Regions from separate parts of the Homo sapiens genome. Here region 1 is linked to region 2. The links are contacts of gene promoters, found by promoter capture Hi-C in blood cells and fetal thymus (Javierre and others, 2016). All regions are on one chromosome and are shown on one strand. Each heading gives the region's core, a stretch centred on a gene start or on the middle of the fragment in contact. The rest is flanking DNA. Distances are from core to core; before and after follow the strand shown. Region 1 has its middle 5.2 kb from the start of GAST. Region 2 holds the start of KRT12 (keratin 12).

Region 1 (4,220 bases), core at 1,257-3,756, 840 kb after region 2:
GGGGTGTTGCCCTTGCCACATGGCAGCATCTCTCTGGCTCGTGGACAGAAATGACCTCTGCCGTCTGCCAGGGATCATTTGGAATCAGGTGGGTTTATATATGCAGCAAAACTTCAGTAAAGCTTGAAGAAACGCACTGATCCTTCTACCTTCTCTGAAATAACGTTCTCAATAGCGAGGTCATAGGCATAACCAGCCATCCAAACCTCCCCCATGGCCCCTTGAGCCCACCATGTGTCACTCCAACCCACCCCACTCCTGGGCTCAATAGACAACAAAGAAAAGGGAAGAGAAAGAACAAAGACCCCCCTCGATCACCATTGTGTCCCCAGGGTCAGAACAGTGCCTGACACAAAGCAGGCACTTGGAAAATTTGTGTTGAGTAAACAGATGCATGGATGAATGAGTGAATGAAAGAGTGAAAGCACACGGTCTCTAAGCAGGCAGGAGGGTCTGGGATGATGGGCCCTGGTGGAGGGGCTGACACTGAATGGGGTGACAGAACCTCCAGCGATGGAGGAAAGGAGGAAAGGACGGAAGCGGGACTTAGGCAGCTGTGTTCACGGTGGGGAAAAGGGGGCTGACGTCAAATGACCTTGGGAATGAAAGAGAAATGATTCACCACAGTTGCCAGTAACAACCAAGCTGCAGAATATTAATTTGCAATTGAATCAACTGGTCACTTTCGGAAACTTCCTGTCGGTTTTTGCAGGGAGTGGCAGGAGCTGAGGAAGGGGTCGGGGTGGCCTGTCAGGGACCTGGGACCAGCCTGGCAGGTTCAGAAGCAGGACAGGGGCAGCAATCTATGTGCATCACACAGAACTGAGATGACAAACCCTGGGAGGGGTAGGCGGGCTGGGAGGAGCCAGACAGTGGAGGAGCTGGAGGTCACAGTGAAGACAGATTCAGCAGGAGCGAGGCTTCTGGAGAGGGTGGGATGGGAAGCTGTGGGCCGAGAAGAGGCAGCAGCACATGGAGTCCAAGACCCGGGGGTTCCCCAACTCAGCTCCCTCACCTCCTACCTGTTGGGCCGGGGATGAGCCATTCAGCCTGGAACACACCCGAATAAAGACTCCTCTCATCCTCTCACAGAGGGGCCTTTAGGATTATTTTTCCCAGTTAAAACCACTGTTAGGCCAGGCGTGGTGGCCCATGCCTATAAATCCCAGGGCTTTGGGAGGCCAGGAGGGAGGATCACTTGAGGCCAGGTGATCCAAATACAAAGCCTGGGCTGAGAACCACTGCTTCGAAGGCACAGGTGGGCATCAGAGGAGAAAAGGAGAGAGGAGGCTCAGGAGAGAAGCGGAAGCCAGAGTAAGGGTAGCCACTACTCTCTGTCCTTGACAGCCCAGCCTGGGCCCAGGGGTGGTGGGCAGCCTCTCCAGCCCAGTCTGCAAGCAGCTTGCAGGCTGCCCTCTTGGCCCTGCCATGTCACCACTCTCAGACAGCAGCTGAGGCCAGAACCCAAGAACCCACCTCCCCCTACCTAGCCCCCTACCCCAGGGGGGATCATGGATGCCCTCATTGATGCAAACACCTTCCAGGTGTCACTGTTTGTCCCCAGAACTACCACATCCTCCAAAGCCCTGGTTGCCTGGGCCAGAATGATTGAGTCGTCATCAAGCTCTTCCTTTTCTGCCATCAATAACCAATTAGGAAGCCAAGGCACTGCCTCCCTGACAACGGTTTGCAGCTCATCAATAGTGATCTGTTTCCCAAAGCCAGCCCTGGCAGGCAGGAGTGTGCCTGGGTCCACTGAGAAGCCTCTCCCTCCTCAGGGAACAGTCTCCTTCACAGGGGACCCTTGTTTTTCTGTTACTCTTTTTTTTTTTTTTTTTTTTTTTTTTTTTTTTTTTTTTTTGAGACAGAGTCTCACTCTGTCGCCAGGCTGGAGTGCAGTGGCACGATCCCAGCTCACTGCACCCTCTGCCTCCCAGGTTCAAGCAATTCTCCTGCCTCAGCCTCCCAAGTAGCTGGGACTACAGGCACACACCACCACGCCCGGCTTTTTTTTTTTTTTTGTATTTTAGTAGAGACAGGGTTTCACCATGTTGCCCAGGCTGGTCTTGAACTCCTGAGCTCAGGCAATCTGCCCACCTTGGCCTCCCAAAGTGCTAGGATTACAGGCGTGAGCCACCACACCCGGCCGTGTGTTACTCTTTTATGCCCCTAGAATCTAAACTCCACCAAAGCAATGAAAGGGTCTGTCCTGTCATAGTCACCTGTTTTTTTTTTTGAGACAAAGCTTCACTCTTGTTGCCCAGGCTGGCGTGCAATCGCACAATCTCAGCTCATTGCAACCTCTGCCTCCCATGTTCAAGCAATTCTTCCACCTCAGCCTCCCAAGTAGCCAGGATTACAGACGTGCACCACCATGCCCGGCTAATTTTGTATTTTTTAGTAGAGACAGAGTTTCATCATGTTGGTCAGGCTGGTCTTGAACTCCCAAACTTAAGTGATCCACCCACCTCAGCCTCCCAAAGTGCTGGGATTACAGGCGTGAGCCGCTGCACCCAGCGCTGTCATATTCACCTCTTATCCCCAAGTAGCCTCATCTGTACCCTAGCTCACAGCAGGTGCTCAGTAATTGGAATGAATTTGGAATATTCGGATGGTCAGAATAACTCAAAGAACAGCTCCCTTCTTTGTATTTGAAAATTTACATGGAAATTCATGCTGGGCCAGTTTTTACTAAACAGAAACCTTCACAAGGCTGTGATCCCTTGTATCCATTTTTGATTGCTACCATAATAAGTCACCACAATTTAGAAGCTTAAAACAACAGCAATTTATTCTCTCGCGGTTCTGTAGGTCAGAAGTCCTGGTACAGAGTGGCTCACGGGGTCCCCTGATTAGGATCTCCCAAGGCCACAATCAGGTCGGCAGGGCTGCATTTCTTTCTGGAGGCTCTAGGGATGAATCCACTTCCAAGCTCATCCAGGTTGTTGGCCAGATTTCATTCTTTGTAGTTGCGGGGCTGACATTCCTCTTTCCTGGCTGTCGGTGGAGAACCTCTCAGCTCCTCAAGGCCACTGCTTTCCTCGTCCTGTTGCCCTCCTGCCATCTTCAGACCAGCAATTGCTTGTGGAGTCCTCATAACTCCAGCTCTCCGACCTGACCTTCAGCCACATCTCTTCTGCCTCTAGCTGAAGAAAGTTAAGGGCTATGTGATTACACTGGGCCCAGTCAGATAATCCAGCATAAACTCCCTAATTTTTTTTTTCAGAGACAGGGGTCTCACTATGTTGCCCAGGCTGGTCTCAAACTCCTGGGCTTAAGTGATCCTCCTGCCTCAGCCTCCAGAGTAGCTGGGACTACAGGCATGCACCACTGCACTTGGCATAAGCTCTCTATTTTAAAGCCAGTAACCTTAATCACACCTGCAACGTCTCTTTTGTTATGTAATCACATATTCACAGGTTCCAAGGATTGGGGCAGGAACATCTTTGGGGACATGATTGTTCTGCCTGCCACATTCCTACTGGGAGGATAGAGACCTGAGTTTCAGACCCACCTCTCCTTTTTGGTGTGTGGACTCAGGATGGGGATTACTTCACCTGTCTAAGCCTTAGTTTCTACTTCTTTTTTTTTTTTTTTTTTTTTTTTGAGACAGCGTCTCACTCTGTCTCCCAAGTACAGTGGCACAATCATGGCTCACTGCAACCTCACCTCCCCGGCTCAAGCAATCCTCCCACCTCAGCCTCCCAAATAGCTGGGACCACAGCCACGCACCACCACACCCAGCTAATTTTTGTATTTTTTGTAGAGATGGGGTTTTGCCATGTTGCCCAGGCTGGTCTTCAACTGTTGGGCTCAAGTAATCTGCCGGCCTCGGCCTCCCCAGGTGCTGGGATTACAGGCGTAAGCCCCCGTACCCATCAGTTTCTTCTGAAGAAGGGGTTCACACTAGCACTTAGGTCCTAGGATCATGGTGAAGAGTGATTGCATTCATTCATGCTAAGAGCTTATCAGTTCCTGGTACACGGCATTGTTATCGTTGTGATGACAGGGGCAGGGCCCACACACCTGCACCCTCGAGGGGGACGGAGATGGGTCCCAAGGTCTGGGATCTGGTCTTCAATTTGGTAGGCCCAGAAATTGAATTTTCTGCTCACCCAGCTAGTCGGTGTTAGAGCCATGATTCAAACCCTGGCCTCACCAGTTCCAAAACCCCCTGTACACCAGGAGGTCCAGCTTCCATAGACTCTATCCCTGCTGCC
Region 2 (4,286 bases), core at 273-2,772:
GCCTGTAATCCCAGCTACTCGGGAGGCTGAGGCAGGAGAATCACTTGAACCTGGGAGGCAGGGGTTGCAGTGAGCCGAGATCGCGTCACTGCACTCCAGCCTGGGTGACAGAGCGAGACTCCATCTCAAAAACAAAAAACAAAAAACAAAAAAAGAAAATTGAGGTTTAGGACACTGGTAGGATTATGGTGTCAGTCACATCATGAGTTGAGTCAATAGCACACTACAAATATCGTGATCCATAGCCCTGGGTTTAAGTAACTTATAATTTAAGGACATTTAATCTGAATTGCATTAGATTCTAATTACTTTCTAGAACACCCTATGTGAATTTACCAAAACAGTAAATATATGGAGTATGTGAACTTCAGAAGATTTTATATCAATGAAGGCAGGACAGTAGGACAGAAGACATGGTGGGACACGCCCATGATCTTCAGTTTATTCGACTCACTTCATCCTGAAGTCCTCAGCAGCTAGTCTCGCATTGTCAATCTGCAAGAGGAGCTGGGCATTTCCAATGCTGGCTGAAATGATCTGGCAAAAGAGAGGGACACACACAAGATTGAAGCCCTAAAAGACTAGTATTATACAAATATATTTTTGACACAAAGGTGAAAATGGTGATATTAAATGCTGTTTTATTTAGAGTTTAAGACAGTTTCATTTTTCTAAGACAATATCTGTATAAAATAATATTGAGAAGTAAAGAAATGCAGATTTCCTACAGAAAGATAATGGAAATACAATCATTTCTTAGTAAATGATAAAGTGGAGTGAAACAACCTGGGATGAGAAAATTGCTGCAAGTACAGCTAAATTGGAAAATATCAAAGTTGTAGGTGATTATCACTGTAAAACATTGTAATGGTAAAAAGGAAAAAAAAAATTCCCAAAGCGCCTCCAAAAGAGATCTTACCTTATTCCTGAGGTCTTCAATCAGTGGATAATATTTGCTGTAATCGCTCTGTGAAGCATCTGCAGTCCCAGTTCCTCGTGTTTCATACCATTCTCGAATTTTATTTTCTAGCTCAGTATTAGCCTCTTCTAGAGCTCGCACCTTATCCAGGTAGGAAGCTAATCTATCATTAAGATTTTGCATAGTTTCTTTTTCTGATCCAGAAAGAAGGCCTCCATCATTGCCCGAGAGAATACCTAGAGAGCCACCTCCTGGGCTGCCCCCAAATCCCATCCCCAGCCCTCCAAAGCTACCTCCACCCAGGGCTCTCCCATAACCAGCACCCAGTCCTCCTGCCATGGAACTTCCGGAGCCACCCCCAAAGCCGGAACTAGAACCAAACATGGAAGCAGCAGAAAAGCCTCCCCCACAGCTGGCTCCAAAGCCAAAGGCACTTCCCCCATAACCACTTCCAACACTGGAAGCAGACATGCCCCTGGGTCTGCCTATCACACTCTGCGAGGAGAGCCGCCGGGACAGTCCGGGGGTGCGCACTGAGAGTGACATGGTGTTGTTGGAGAGATCCATGGCCTGGGGAAGGTGGCCACAACTGGAGAGGAAGTTGTGCCAGCAAGCCAGAAAGCTAAACTTATATAGGCTGCAAGATGGGTGTCGCAGTTGAAAAGTTCACTTTCTCCACTCAAAATTGGATCCTCCCCCCAGGTTTTTGGCCAGCTCAACAAGTGAATGATTTATGTATAATGAAAATTCATTGATACAGAAATAATCGAATAATCATTTCCATTAAATATTTGTTATATGAAAAAGAAAGCTGGGTGGAGTAGAGTCTGCTTGTCATAAGGAATTTTTCTTCTCCAAATTAGTCTGTTGCCTGTATTCCCAGCACTGCCTAGCGTCTTGTTCACAGTAGGAAGATAATGAGCGATTGCTGAATGGATACGTTAAATACTTCTTCCTAAACCTTATGCTTTTTTAAGTTCTTCCCTGATCTTTTCTGTTTGTTTCCTTTGGAAAATCCAGTGTAAACCATTTGTTTCCTTTGGAAAAACCAATCCAATGTAAAATCCAGTCATGATCAAGTATACCTTTTAGTGGAATACAGCTTCAGAAGCAGCTGTGAAATGCACTGGTGAAAGGTGGAGAATAAATATATTTTCCAGATGGATACTAGAATTTGCATTTTCAAGGATTTTAAAACCTTGGCTTTAGGATGTTGCATGTTTCTTTTCCCTCTTATTCTTCAACTTGGAAAAGTACTATTTTTGAGTACAGTTGTTTATAGTAGAGTTTATTATAGTTGTTTTAGCAGTTTTACCTTGTCTGATTGCTCACTGCTCTACACTCAGCATTTACTATGTTTATTCCTTCAACAGATATTGCCTGTAATGGTTGCTCAATAAATGTGTTGACTAGTTGAATGGATTGTGTAAACACTTCAGATTTTGTTGCCATTATCAATAAGGAGAAAGTGGAAACACAGTTCAAATTAAGAAATGATTAAAACCCCAAGTTTAAGAGGCTAGTGAACCATTTCAGTTGACTGCTATGATGAAAAAGGATAAATTTTACAATATAGAATAAATTAAATGTTATATTTTAAACTTTGTTGTGAAAACTTTGCAAAGCGTGCTTCAAGGAATTATATCCAGTATCTTTAATTTTTAAGACATAAAGTTCTTATACTTTCTTGTTTGGTATATTATTTATCTTTGAAATTGATATGGCTTATATATTGAACATGAGAACTAACGTTCTTACAGGAAATGCATTAACTTGAAAGAAGCCTGCTTTCAGAGAGAGTTGTAGATACCTGGAAACCGAGTAGTACAATTCCAGGGTGGTGGAATTCCCTTAGGAATTTAAATTGTGAGCATTTTGATTGGATAAGAAGGAATAAGGATTTTTCTTTTACATGTTTTCTTTGAGATGATGGCCCAATTCTCTACATGTCTCATTGCAAAATAGTTCTATAGTTTTTTTTTAAATATAGCTCTCTATGTATTTATAGTAGGAAATTTAGAAGATGCAGAAAACATAAAGAAGATGTATGTATATATGAGTATTTTATATACATTTTTGAACATAATTGATTCAATATAAGATTTTATAATCTGCTTTTCTCTTAAGATTATATACTTATCTATCACTTGAACTTTAATAATTGGGTACAGAACATGGATTGTGGATTCTTCGAAATCCTTTGTTGGATTCAGATTTCTAAATTCAGTTTGCTCTGTATTTGATGATAGGAAATAAAATTTCTGGGTGTAAATAACAGTTTTTTTGCAAAGATGTTTATACTGAATTTTATTAATAAGGTATACACTGACTGTGTGTGCTATAGACATATATGTATTTTGACTAGAATGGATTTATTGAAATAAAATACATTAAAATCATTGTAATGATACATTTCCTACCTCGTGGGAAACAGGGCCTTCATTTCTCCATCAGGGACCTCTGTTTGCTTATAGATGGCCACTAAAACTCCTTTTCAATTTGGTATATTTGGATTCTGCGTTTTATTTTATTCTAAGGAAAAGTTTTAAAAATATCACAAGTATTCTAGATTTCTAAAATAAAATTGAATTCTTATTTGATTTAATAATACATACCTTTCATAAAAAGGAAGATTTTTATTTTTATTTATTTACCACTACTGGATTTTTTTTAAAAAATTTCAACTTTAATTTTAGATTCAGGAGGTACATGTGCAGGTTTGTTACGTGTGTATATTTCATGATGCTGAGGTTTGGGGTACGACTCATCTCATCACCCAGGTAGTAAGCATAGTACCCAATAGTTGTTTAACCTTTGCTCCCCACAGTAATTCCCAGTGTCTATTGTTGGCATTCTATATGTCCATGAGTGCCCAATGTTTAATTCCCAAAAAGGAGGCTTTCTATACATTTTAAAGTGGAGATTGAATCTATCTGGTAAAGATTAATTTCTCAGCAAAATTATTGGATACCTGTGAGATCATTGAGATGTTACTTACTTAATACAAACAATCAACCATAAAAATTAGCAAATATGTGGCTATTGTTTAAGGTTTTTCCATAAGCATATGCAATACTTTTTGTTTCTCTTACTAAAACAATAACCTGATTTTTTTGGACACTTCAATAGCAGAGATAATATGTGAAGTAAGCCTGTAACTGTTACACAACTTGAATTATGTCAAAATGATGTGGTCTTTTTGAAAATTAAATCAAGAATTTCAACCAAGCCAACATGAAAGTATTCAAGTACTAGGTCTGCTGTTACCTCCATTCTTCAATGTCTAGTCCATTTGCCCAGTGTCTTGGACAAAGTCAGCATTCAATATATGCTTATTGATTTCTCTCTTGATAAATCAAGCTGCTGG

The links. Contacts are between HindIII fragments. The CHiCAGO score rates a contact against its expected background, and 5 or more counts as called.
Region 1: a contact is called between a fragment that was not itself captured here and the fragment with the promoter of KRT12 in region 2, in 1 of 17 cell types (non-activated CD4 T cells). The highest score is 5.3, in non-activated CD4 T cells.

Annotation. Positions count from the first base shown.
Region 1 is chr17:41,705,031-41,709,250 of GRCh38, forward strand. No RefSeq gene overlaps it. Among named protein-coding and RNA genes, the nearest start is that of GAST, 5.2 kb to the right of the region's middle. RefSeq lists enhancers at 22-814, 3,139-3,666. The HindIII fragment of the contact is 527 bases long and covers 2,244-2,770 here.
Region 2 is chr17:40,865,701-40,869,986 of GRCh38, forward strand. It overlaps KRT12 (keratin 12), which reads right to left and starts at 1,523. Exons shown (of 8, transcript NM_000223.4): 1 at 920-1,523; 2 at 455-537. The coding sequence starts at 1,486. All of the region lies in intron 1 of LOC105371777 (a long non-coding RNA gene), which reads left to right. The HindIII fragment of the contact is 7,860 bases long and covers 1-4,286 here.